Regions from separate parts of the Homo sapiens genome. Here all the other regions are linked to region 3. The links are contacts of gene promoters, found by promoter capture Hi-C in human tissues and cell types (Jung and others, 2019). All regions are on one chromosome and are shown on one strand. Each heading gives the region's core, a stretch centred on a gene start or on the middle of the fragment in contact. The rest is flanking DNA. Distances are from core to core; before and after follow the strand shown. Region 1 overlaps DENND6A (DENN domain containing 6A). Region 2 overlaps PDE12 (phosphodiesterase 12). Region 3 holds the start of SLMAP (sarcolemma associated protein).

The links. Contacts are between HindIII fragments. The study calls those that stand out against the background at their distance.
Region 1: a fragment that was not itself captured here is called in contact with the fragment with the promoter of SLMAP in region 3 in 1 of the 25 tissues and cell types used here (hippocampus).
Region 2: a contact is called between a fragment that was not itself captured here and the fragment with the promoter of SLMAP in region 3, in 1 of the 25 tissues and cell types used here (hippocampus).

The regions. Positions count from the first base shown.
Region 1 is chr3:57,623,464-57,626,818 of GRCh38, reverse strand. DENND6A (DENN domain containing 6A) reads left to right here. Exons shown (of 20, transcript NM_152678.3): 20 at 1-1,365. It also overlaps a transcript of PDE12 not described here. Among named protein-coding and RNA genes, the nearest start is that of ARF4-AS1, 27 kb to the right of the region's middle. The HindIII fragment of the contact is 7,622 bases long and covers 1-3,355 here.
Region 2 is chr3:57,561,695-57,565,081 of GRCh38, reverse strand. It overlaps PDE12 (phosphodiesterase 12), which reads right to left. Exons shown (of 3, transcript NM_177966.7): 3 at 1-3,387. Among named protein-coding and RNA genes, the nearest start is that of PDE12, 7.1 kb to the right of the region's middle. The HindIII fragment of the contact is 8,870 bases long and covers 1-3,387 here.
Region 3 is chr3:57,754,951-57,758,278 of GRCh38, reverse strand. It overlaps SLMAP (sarcolemma associated protein), which reads right to left and starts at 1,970. Exons shown (of 25, transcript NM_001377540.1): 1 at 1,937-1,970; 2 at 430-1,731. The coding sequence starts at 627. RefSeq lists a silencer at 1,233-1,512 and enhancers at 1,060-1,961, 1,883-2,062, 2,093-2,372, 1,962-2,864. The HindIII fragment of the contact is 9,488 bases long and covers 1-3,328 here.

The sequences.
Region 1 (3,355 bases), core at 209-2,708, 130 kb after region 3:
TTAAACAATACTACCTTGCCAAAAATAGAAGAATGTGATTTGGTAGAGTAGGGTTGTTTGGTTTGTGTTTGAATAAGAGTATCCTACAGAAGCCACTTTTTTTTTTTTTGAGATGGAGTTTTGCTCTTGTTGCCCAGGCTGGAGTGCAATGGCGCAATCTCGGCTGACTGCAACCTCCACCTCCCGGGTGCAAGTGATTGTCCTGCCTCAGCCTCCTGAGTAGCTGGGATTACAGGTATGTGCCACCACGCCTGGCTAATTTTGTATTTTTAGTAGAGATGGGGTTTCTCCATGTTGGTCAGGCTGGTCTCAAACTCCCGACCTCAGGTGATCCGCCCGCCTCGGCCTCCCAAAGTGCTGGGATTACAGGTGTGAGCCACCGCACCTGGCCAGAAGCCACTAACTAAAATAGGCACACATGACACAGCATGTGGTTAATAGCTGTGTCTTGAATTATCCTCTAAATAACCAAATTTAGTTGTATGTATTTGTAAAGGATATGGCTTCAGAAGCTATCTTTTGTTCTCTGTCGATATAACTCTTAAGGGCATTCCTGACCCAAGAAAGACTCCTTGCGTTTGTAACTGTGGTCTAATACCCAAATGTGCCCTGTTCTTATGGATACAGTCTCTTGAAGCATACCTCAAAGTCATAGAGAGAATATGGCATTTGAAAGAAATCGTTTGCCTTGGATCATATGAGTTATTTTGTGAAACAACAGCTGACTTTTCAGAAAAGGAGCAACTACTTTTATATGCTAAAAGTATTTCATAACTTTCTGGGAAACCTTATTTAGGTATAAATGGTCATCTTATTATTTTTCAAAAAGGTATATTTTAATAATTGTACAATTTATATACAGTTTGTGACCAGAATTTGTAAGTTGTTGGTGTCATATCAAGGATCTTTTAAATTATGCCACTACAGGATGTATCATTTCAAGTCTATTTTGCACAGCTAAACAGTAGCAAAAGATGCCAATTAGCATGATAATGGTGTCTTCATTTTTACTGTATTTAACTGAAACCTAACACATGTTGAAAACCATATCATACCTAGTTTATCTCTTAATTTCAAACTATGTACTTGTAAAAATGATGTAAATTTGCACTGGGAACCTGGGAAAGAGTGACTGATAATTTTTGGTGCGTGATTTTTAGATTTGTCTTTTTTTTTTTAAGAAGAATTTGTTACTATGTAAACCCTGACATTAAATGTTTTATCTCTACCAGCATCAGGAGGAATCACTGCTTTAAGGGTATTATGTAATGCCTAGTGCCTTCTATTTACAGTGAAAAAGAGGTTTTGTGAAGGCATTTATGGTCATTACCAAAAACTAAATTAAAGGCCTTGGATTTTAAAGCACTTGGATATTTTGTGTTATTTCTGAATGGGGTTGGACTGCTTGGAGAAAATGCATAGTTAATGAAACTCGTCATTATGAGATTCCTTTTGTTTCCTGCCAGGTTGTTTGTTTTTTTAAGGACTTCAAATGAAAACCCTGTGTACTTCACTATGAACAGGTGAACAGTTCTGTTTAGACAGATCAGTTAAGTGACTTCATATCTTTCCTAGCAGTGCATTGATTTTATGAAATATTCTGGTAAAAATATTGGTCGTATGTGGTGGCTCATACCTGTAATCTCAGCACTTCAGGAGGCTGAGGCAGGAGGATCGTTTAAGCTCAGGAGTTCAAGATCTGCCTAGGCAAACAAAGTGAGACCCCGTCTCTACAAAAAATCAAAAAATTAGCAGAGCATGGTGGCACATGCCTGCAGTCTCAGCTACTCAGGTGGCTCAGGTGGGTGAGGGGATGGCCTCAGCCTAGGAGATTGAGGCTGCAGTGAGCCATAATCACACCACTGCACTCCCGCCTGGGTGACAGAGCAAGACCTGTCTCAAAAAAATAATTATTTTAGTTGAATAAACTCAATTATTGCTAGATTCTCCTTCATTTGCTACCTTTTTAAAAACCCAAATCTCCCAATTATTTTTACTTCTTCCTCTTCTTTTTTAAAAGTAGCAACTACATTATATTATTCTTTTTTTTTTCTTGAGACGGAGTCTTGCACTGTCACCCAGGTTGGAGTGCAGTGGTGTGATCTCTGCTCACTGCAATCTCCACCTCCCAGGTTGAAGCCGTCCTCCTGCCTCGGCCTCTCAAGTAGCTGGGATTACAAGTATGTGCCACCACACCTGGCTAATTTTTGTATTTTTAGTAGAGACGGGGTTTCACCATGTTGGCCAGGCTGGTCTCGAACTCCTGACCTCAAGTGATCTGTCTTGGCTTCCCAAAGTCCTGGGATTACAGGCATGAGCCACTGCACCTGAGACCCCATCTCTAAAAAAAGTTTTTTAAAAGTAGTCAGATGGCCGGGCATGGGCTCACGCCTGTAATCCCAGCACTTTGGGAGGCTGAGATGGGTGGATCACAAGGTCAGGAGATCGAGACCATCCTGGCTAACACAGTGAAACCCTGTCTCTACTAAAAATACAAAAAATTAGCCAGGCGTGGTGGCGGGCGCCTGTATTCGTAGCTACTGGGGAGGCTGAGGCAGGAGAATGGTGTGAACCTGGGAGGCGGAGCTTGCAGTGAGCCGAGATCGCCCCACTGCACTCCAGCCTGGGCGACAGAGCGAGACTCCGCCTCAAAAAAAAAAAAAAGTAGTCAGACATGGTGGTACATGCCTGTGGTCCCAGCTACTTGGGAGGCTAAGGTGGGAGGATAGTGCATGCCCAGGAGTTCGAGGCTGCAGTGAGCTGTGATCATGCCACTTCACTCAGCCTGAGCAGCAGAGTGAGACCCTGTCTATAAAAGAAAAAATATTTTTAAAAAATTTTAAAAGATTTTGTTGTTTGATAATCATGCCTCATTCCATTTTACTAGCTTCACCACTAGACTTGTGTTGTTCTGTTTATTTTGCCTCCCCATTCTTGTCATCATTATACTATTTCTGTGTTAACTGTTAGAAAGCCGGACTTCATGGATCCTACATGTTTTTGCCTGTCCCTTTCCATGTCAGCCAGTCTGAATACATTATGGTATAAATTGCTTCTACATTTACTGAAATATTTTTGGAAAATAGTAACTTTATATTCCAGAGTTATACTTCTTATTAAGTGAGTGATTTTATTTTTTTGAGAGGGAGTCTTGCTCTGTCACCCAGGCTGAAGTGCAATGGCGCCATCTCAGCTCACTGCAACCTCCACCTCCCAGGTTCAAGCTATTCTCCTGCCTCAGCCTCCCCAGTAGCTGGGATTACAGGCGTGCGCCACCATACCCAGCTAATTTTTGTACTTTTAGTCGAGATGGGGTTTCACCATGTTGGTCAGGTTGGTCTCAAACTCCTGACCT
Region 2 (3,387 bases), core at 799-3,298, 190 kb after region 3:
CCTGGAGTTTGATGCTGCAGTGAGCTATGATCATGCCACTGCGCTCCAGCCTGGGCAACAGCAACACCCTGTCTTATTTAAAAAAAAAAAAAATGTGTGCTGACTGGGTGGGGTGGCTCATGTCTGTAATATCAGCACTTTGGGAGGCCGAGGTGGGTGGACTGCTTGAACTGAGAATTTCAAGACCAGCCTGGGCAACATGGTGAAACCATTTTTTTTTTTTTTTTTGCCTATAAAATATACAAAAATTAGCCAGGTGTGGCGGTGCGCACCTGTAGTCCCAGCTATTTGGGGAGGCTGTGGTGGGAGGATTGCATAAGCCCAGGAGGTGGAGGTTGCAGTAAGCCGTGATGGCACCAGTGCCCTCCAAGCCTGGGTGACAAAGCCAGACCCTGTCTCAAAAAAGAAAAAAAAAGTGTTTATATTATCCAGTATAAGAAAGCCAACTAAATAAAGCCTATCCATTTCCCCTACTGAACCATCTTCAATATATAAGGAACACAAATGGTATGAAACTAGCACAAATGCAACCTAGGAATACTTCAATACACTAAAAAAAAAGTACATCAATACTTCATGATAACATCATTAAAGTGAATTACTGGGCAAAATGGACTGTGTTATATAAATGCTTTGACATACATTCATTACATAAATTGGACAGAAGATAGAGATGAATAATTCAGTTTTCTGTGAAATTTTGCGGGGAAATTTTAAATTATGAGTAAAAATCTAACACTGACAGTATGAACATGGATTTTTGACAACCCAGAATTTGCTAGCATAGCAGATAGGTGAACAGATTTACTATATTTAAGATTATTTTGCCATTTATATATAAAATTAAAATTTAGGCCGGGTACCGTGGCTCATGCCTGTAATCCCAGCACTTTCAGAGGCTGAGGCAGGCAGATCACTTGAGTTCAGGAGTTCAAGACCAGCCTGGCCAATATGGTGAAACCCTGTCTCTACTAAAAATACAAAAATTACAAGCAGTACTGTATGGTTATTTTGAAGTTAGTGCTAAGAAGAAAAATAAAATCACGAAGTTAATACAGCTCTAGTATTTTTAACATTTAAAAAAGTACTTTCATATAAAGTGAGAACACAGAACTTATATATTACCCATGTCAGTTAAAGCTGTTAAAAATTGTCCTCCCTACCCCCTACAACATGAAATCTAGAGTGGTTTTTTGAAGACAGGGTCTTGCTCTATTACCCAGGCTGGAGTGCAGCGCACCTTGATCACAACTCACTGCAGGCTTGACCTCATGGGCTCAAGTGATCCTCTGGCCTCAGCCTCCTGAGCAGCTGGGACTACAGGCATGCACCACCATGCCTGGTTAATTTTATTTTTTGCAGAGATAGGGTCTCACAATGTTGCCAAGGCTGGTCTTGAACTCCTCAGCTCAAGTGATCCTCCTGCCTCAGCCTCCCAAAATGTTGTGATTACAGTCAAGAGCCACTATGCCTGGCCCTCTAGATAGTGTTGCCTTCCTGTACTATATTAAGCAAATTATTAAAATTCTCAAAACACTGAAATATTTTTTATTTGTGTTTAAAAAATTCATTTTCAGGGCTGGGGGAGGGATAGCATTAGGAGAAATACCTAATGTAAATGACGAGTTAACGGGTGCAGCAAACCAACATGGCACATGTATACCTATGTAACAAATCTGCACGTTGGGCACATGTACACTAGAACTTAAAGTATAATAATAAAAAAAGAAAAAAAGAAAGTTAGTTTTCAGTTATGGAAGGTTGGGCTTGTAATCTCAACTACTTGGGACGCTGAGGCAGGAGGATCATTTGAGCCCCGCAGTTTGAGGCTGTAGTAAGTTATGACTGCACCACTGCACTCCAGCCTGGGTAACAGTGAGACTCTATCTCTTAAAAAAATTATGCTGAGAATATTTTCTGAGTTGTCACATGGGTCTTGTGATAAACTAATAATGCAAACTTTTATTTTTCATTATATATAAATATTGGATTTATCCCAACCAAACTAGTTTGCAGGGAACCTCTGCCTTTATTTCACGGCTGGAGAATGAGATACAAAAGATGTCAATTTCCATCGTAAGAACTTTCCACAGTAGTGTTCTTTGGACATTCTCTCCCTTGTATTAGGCTCCTCAGAAATCTATCTCCAGACTGAAACCAGCACATTCTGATGAGATCATAGCTTAGTACTCAGAAAAATCACTACTCAGTGGAATTCTTGAAATTTTGAAACAACTGATTTTAGCATACAGAATTTCAAAAAGAACATACATTACAGCCAGAAACGATTGTTTGCTCATGAATTTTGATTATTGGCAGACACATTTGCTGTAGCGGCAACTGTGCAAGAGTTCATTTTAACAGAATAATATGTTCTGAAATACTCTTTTATAATCAATATAAAATTCTAGAATGTTAATTCCTATAGCAAGAACTTGTGACATTATAAAATGTGGTTTACCATAGAAAGTCGCTAGATTTCCCATGTTTTCTTAAAATTAAATGTACTAAAAAATCCAAATGTAATAGAAAAATGCAATCACATAGGTGCTTTAAACAGACATTTCTGAATAACACTGCATTCTAACTCATGAGTACAAAGAAATGTGTATGCTATTTATACATTTTCTTAGTGTTCCCTACCTTTGGACTCCAATCATTTTAACGTATCCGTATACTGGAGATTTGATCACAGTATATGGCACTTCACAATAACATTCCATGTCCTAATAATGTGAAATGCCTGTATACAATCTGAGTATATTGTTTAGTCAGAAAACATCAAAATTAAGGATATAGGACATGGAATGTCTGTTAAGTGCTGAGTTTTTCTGACTAGAGTTTAATCTAGCCAGTGTTAATGTGGAAGCTGTATGCTTTTTTCATGGGCATGTTCGAATTTTTTCTTTCAAAATGTTTCTCAACTTTTTGATGTGACACTTTGTTTTCTCCCAAGTCACTCTAAGGGTTCTATCAACATCTTTCTTTGAAAACAGCCCAAAAACATATTTTTAAAATGAAAAAAAAATTCACAAGAGAATCAAGATTTGGTTTTAATCTATTATTTACATATTTGTAAACTGCTGTTAAAATGCTCTCAAAAATGTTATTTAGGAAGGCACAATTTGGTAGCATCAATTTTTTATTTATAGTTTTTTCTAAACAAGATCCGAAGAAACTTCCACTTTAATTTTCCCCTTGGAGTACTTAAAGTACTTCAAGGTTCAATGTCAAATGCAGATAAAACCCCTTCATTTTCAAACTTACTAAGTGTTAACAATACATTTGATAGTGAGCAGAATATGAAAGTACAGATGTTATCAAAAGAGGAAATTCTTATGATACTAGGTTCAGAGATTAAAGAATTTGAAACAAGGGCTTTCATGA
Region 3 (3,328 bases), core at 721-3,220:
TGTTAACTACATTTCACCACTAAGACACTTGAGCCCCGGGATAATAATGGCCACGGATTCCCCGAATTGCTTCGAGAACTGCTGCTTGCTTAATAAAGCGCTGAACTGTGAATTCACCTTTCTAAACAGACTAAAAGCAAGACGCCAAGTTTCACTATCTAGTTTGGGATTTCACTGGGAATGACCACGTTATCAAGATGCCATAGCCCTCCTGAGGCTTTTAATTACAATACCTTCTCTGTTTTCCATTCAACCACCTCAATCAAATTTCCACTAGAACCAGGCACACAAACAGTTGATTCGTGGCTTTGCGCAAAGCCTCCTCTGGATGCAAACCCTGGGATCCTGCATACATTAGTCCTCTCAGGGAGGGCAAAAGGGGAAAAAAAGTTTGTTAAACAATGCCGCTGGACAATGTGGTGACATTACCTTGCCCGTCTTGTGATCAAACCAGACGAGAGCGTGGTTCCTTGATAGCACTTTGCAATCAAAAGTGGCATTATTCTGCGCTGGTCGACAGCGGGCCACTGAGCGGCCGATTTTGATGGGCTCGTCCAGGTAGACATGACGCTCCTGAAACGGGTGCGAGTTCGGGCGGCAAGTGAAGATGGCCAAGGCTGACGGCATCGAGGATAGACTGGGGGTGTCTCTCCTACCAGGGACAAAGAGGAGTTCCTCCGGATCCGGACTGCCCTTCACAAGCCTATGCCCCTATCCCACCCAAAATTTTAAATTAACACAAACTGCACATTGTCTAAGCATAACCAGTGAACATCAACTCTTCACTTGGGTGGGAAGACAAGCCAGCGCAAGCCCCATCACCTCCTTTAAAACGCTGCAACGCCGTGATCACAAAAAGTCCCCAACTGGCAGCTTTCAGTCCATCTTCTTCTCTGGGAAGAAAAGGCTCAAACATCGGGCAGCTTCGGCCAAGAAAACTCCTGGAACACAGTTTGGGGACTGGAGGTATCCAAGCAGATGAGTCACACGCCAATTCTTGTGTTTGGTTTGAGATCGCGGCCGCTTTTCCCCCTTGGTGGCGGAAACGTTGCAGCACTGCAGCATGAATGAAGGGTCGGTTCGGCGCGGCCAGGAAAGTCCTTTTGGGCCGAAGGAAGGTGTGGCTGGGCACCTCTGGGCAGCCACCGCCAGTCCTCGCCCGGAGTGAAGGGGCGAGAGGTGACGGAGACGGAGGGGCTCTAGACGGCCGGCGGGACAGTCTGCATCGCCCCTGCTGAGCGGAGGCCGCCCCGGGAAGGGGGACGCGGTCCCCGGCCTGGCACGATCCGAGACGGCGGTGGCTGAGGTTCTCCGCGCGAGGCGTGGAGGCCGGCGGGGCGCGGGCAGTGGCCAAGTCGGGACTCCTGGGCACCTGGCGAGCGTCCCCGCGACCAGGGCGGGGACCCGGCTCCGCAGGCCGGTGCGGACCGAGCGAGGCGCGACACCGGGAGGCTCGAGTTCCCAGGCGGCAGGAAGTTGGTCCCCGGACGCCTAGGCTTCTGGGCCGCCGCTCAGCACATGGGCCGCCTCCCCTCAGGGTCGCCCCCGCGAGGGTCGCATCTCAGGGACGGCAGCCGCAGCTCCCGGCGGACGAGAAGGTGGGGGAGGGAGACTGGCCCGGAGGTTGGGGAGAGGCCTTGAGGCCCCGGGCTGGATCCGCCGCAGCCTCCACCGATCGCGGCCGATGGGGCAAGCTCAAGCTGCGCCCGACGAGGCAGGAAACTTTCCGACCTGGTGGGGAAAACATCAAAACAAACGGCCGTCAGGCGCCTCAGCCCGCCCGCCTCAGCCGTCGCCCCCTCCAGCCAGACCCCCGCCAGCCCACACCGCTAGGCACGACCTCCGCCGACCTCTCCGCAAGCAGGCTACGAGGATTTGGAGCCAGGACGCCACGACGGGTCCTACCTCCCTAGCCGCCACCACCGCCTCAGCTTACCTTGCCAGCGCCGGCCGCCATAGTGACTCTGACTGAAACCTACCCGGTGCACCGCCACGGGAACGCGCACCCTTCAAGGGCCCTCCTACCCCCTCTCCCGCGCCGTAGTCCAGGAATGTCACGTGAACGACGCCACGGAAGCCGTGTTGGTAGAGGGCAGAAAAAAGGGCAAGGTAATTTTTAACGGGCCTCCAGGCGCCATCTTAGTTAAGGGCTGGAAGCTTCAAACCTCGGGACAACCTTAACGACCATTTTGGTTAAGGGCAAGAACAATTTGCGCCGTAGAAGGTTTTTCAAACAAACAGTGCCACCTTCTTATTTTATCTACTTAGCAAGGGGGTGCCAACTTTTACTAAATTTTATTCTGTTTAATTCTCGATGAAAATACTAGCGAGCAAAAGAACAGACCCAGCCAAAGGAGATGGTCATTAGCAGCCATCTTAGCTGTGGGCAACACAGTCACCCGCAGCTACCTTAAGTGTGAGCCGCCAAACTCCCTGAAGTCTTAGGATTTGTGCACCTAACAGAAGGACCATTCTCCCCTCTGCTAAATTCGTTATGTTTTCTTCCCGGAAAAAAAAAATCTTAGTTCCCGCATTCCATTTCGAATGACAGTCTTTCTCACTGAACCTATTATGTGCCCCCAGGGCTCCTGCGCGGATTCTTCCACAGAAGGAGCGTCCAGAAAGTTTAAAATCATGTTTCTTCCAAAGAGAGATTGAATAATTTCCAAAGTGAAAAAAGAGGGTATTTCCCCCACTTACAATATCAAGATGAGGAGTCATTGGTCTAAAGAAGGAAGACTTTGCAAGGGCTAAATGAAAACTTTAAGAAAAAATAGTGAGAAGGAGACTTACTCATTTAGAATCAAAGGTGACTTCATTCTTCAGATTCCTGCAATAACAGGCTCCACCACTGTGTGACCTTAAGCAAGTTTCTAAACTTTTTCAAGCCTCTTTTTTCTCATGGATGACATGTTAATAATAGTTAATTCACTTGATGTGGTGAGACTTCAAAATGTTAATCCATGTTGTTCAATAAAGAGTAGCAATTAGGCCGGGCGCGGTGGCTCACGCCTGTAATCCCAGCACTTTGGGGGGGCCGAGGCAGGCGGATCACCTGAGGTCGGGAGTTTGAGACCAGCCTGACCAACATGGAGAAACCCCGTCTCTACTAAAAATACATAATTAGCCGGGCGTGGTGGCGCATGCCTGTAATCCCAGCTACTTGGGAGGCTGAGGCAGGAGAATCACTTGAACCCGGGAGGCGGAGGTTGCGGTGAGCCAAGATCGCGCCATTGCAGTCCAGCCTGGGCAACAAGAGTGAAACTGTCTCTCCAAAAAAAAAAAAAAAAAGAAAGAAAGAAAGAAAAAGTAGCAGTTATTCATCTCA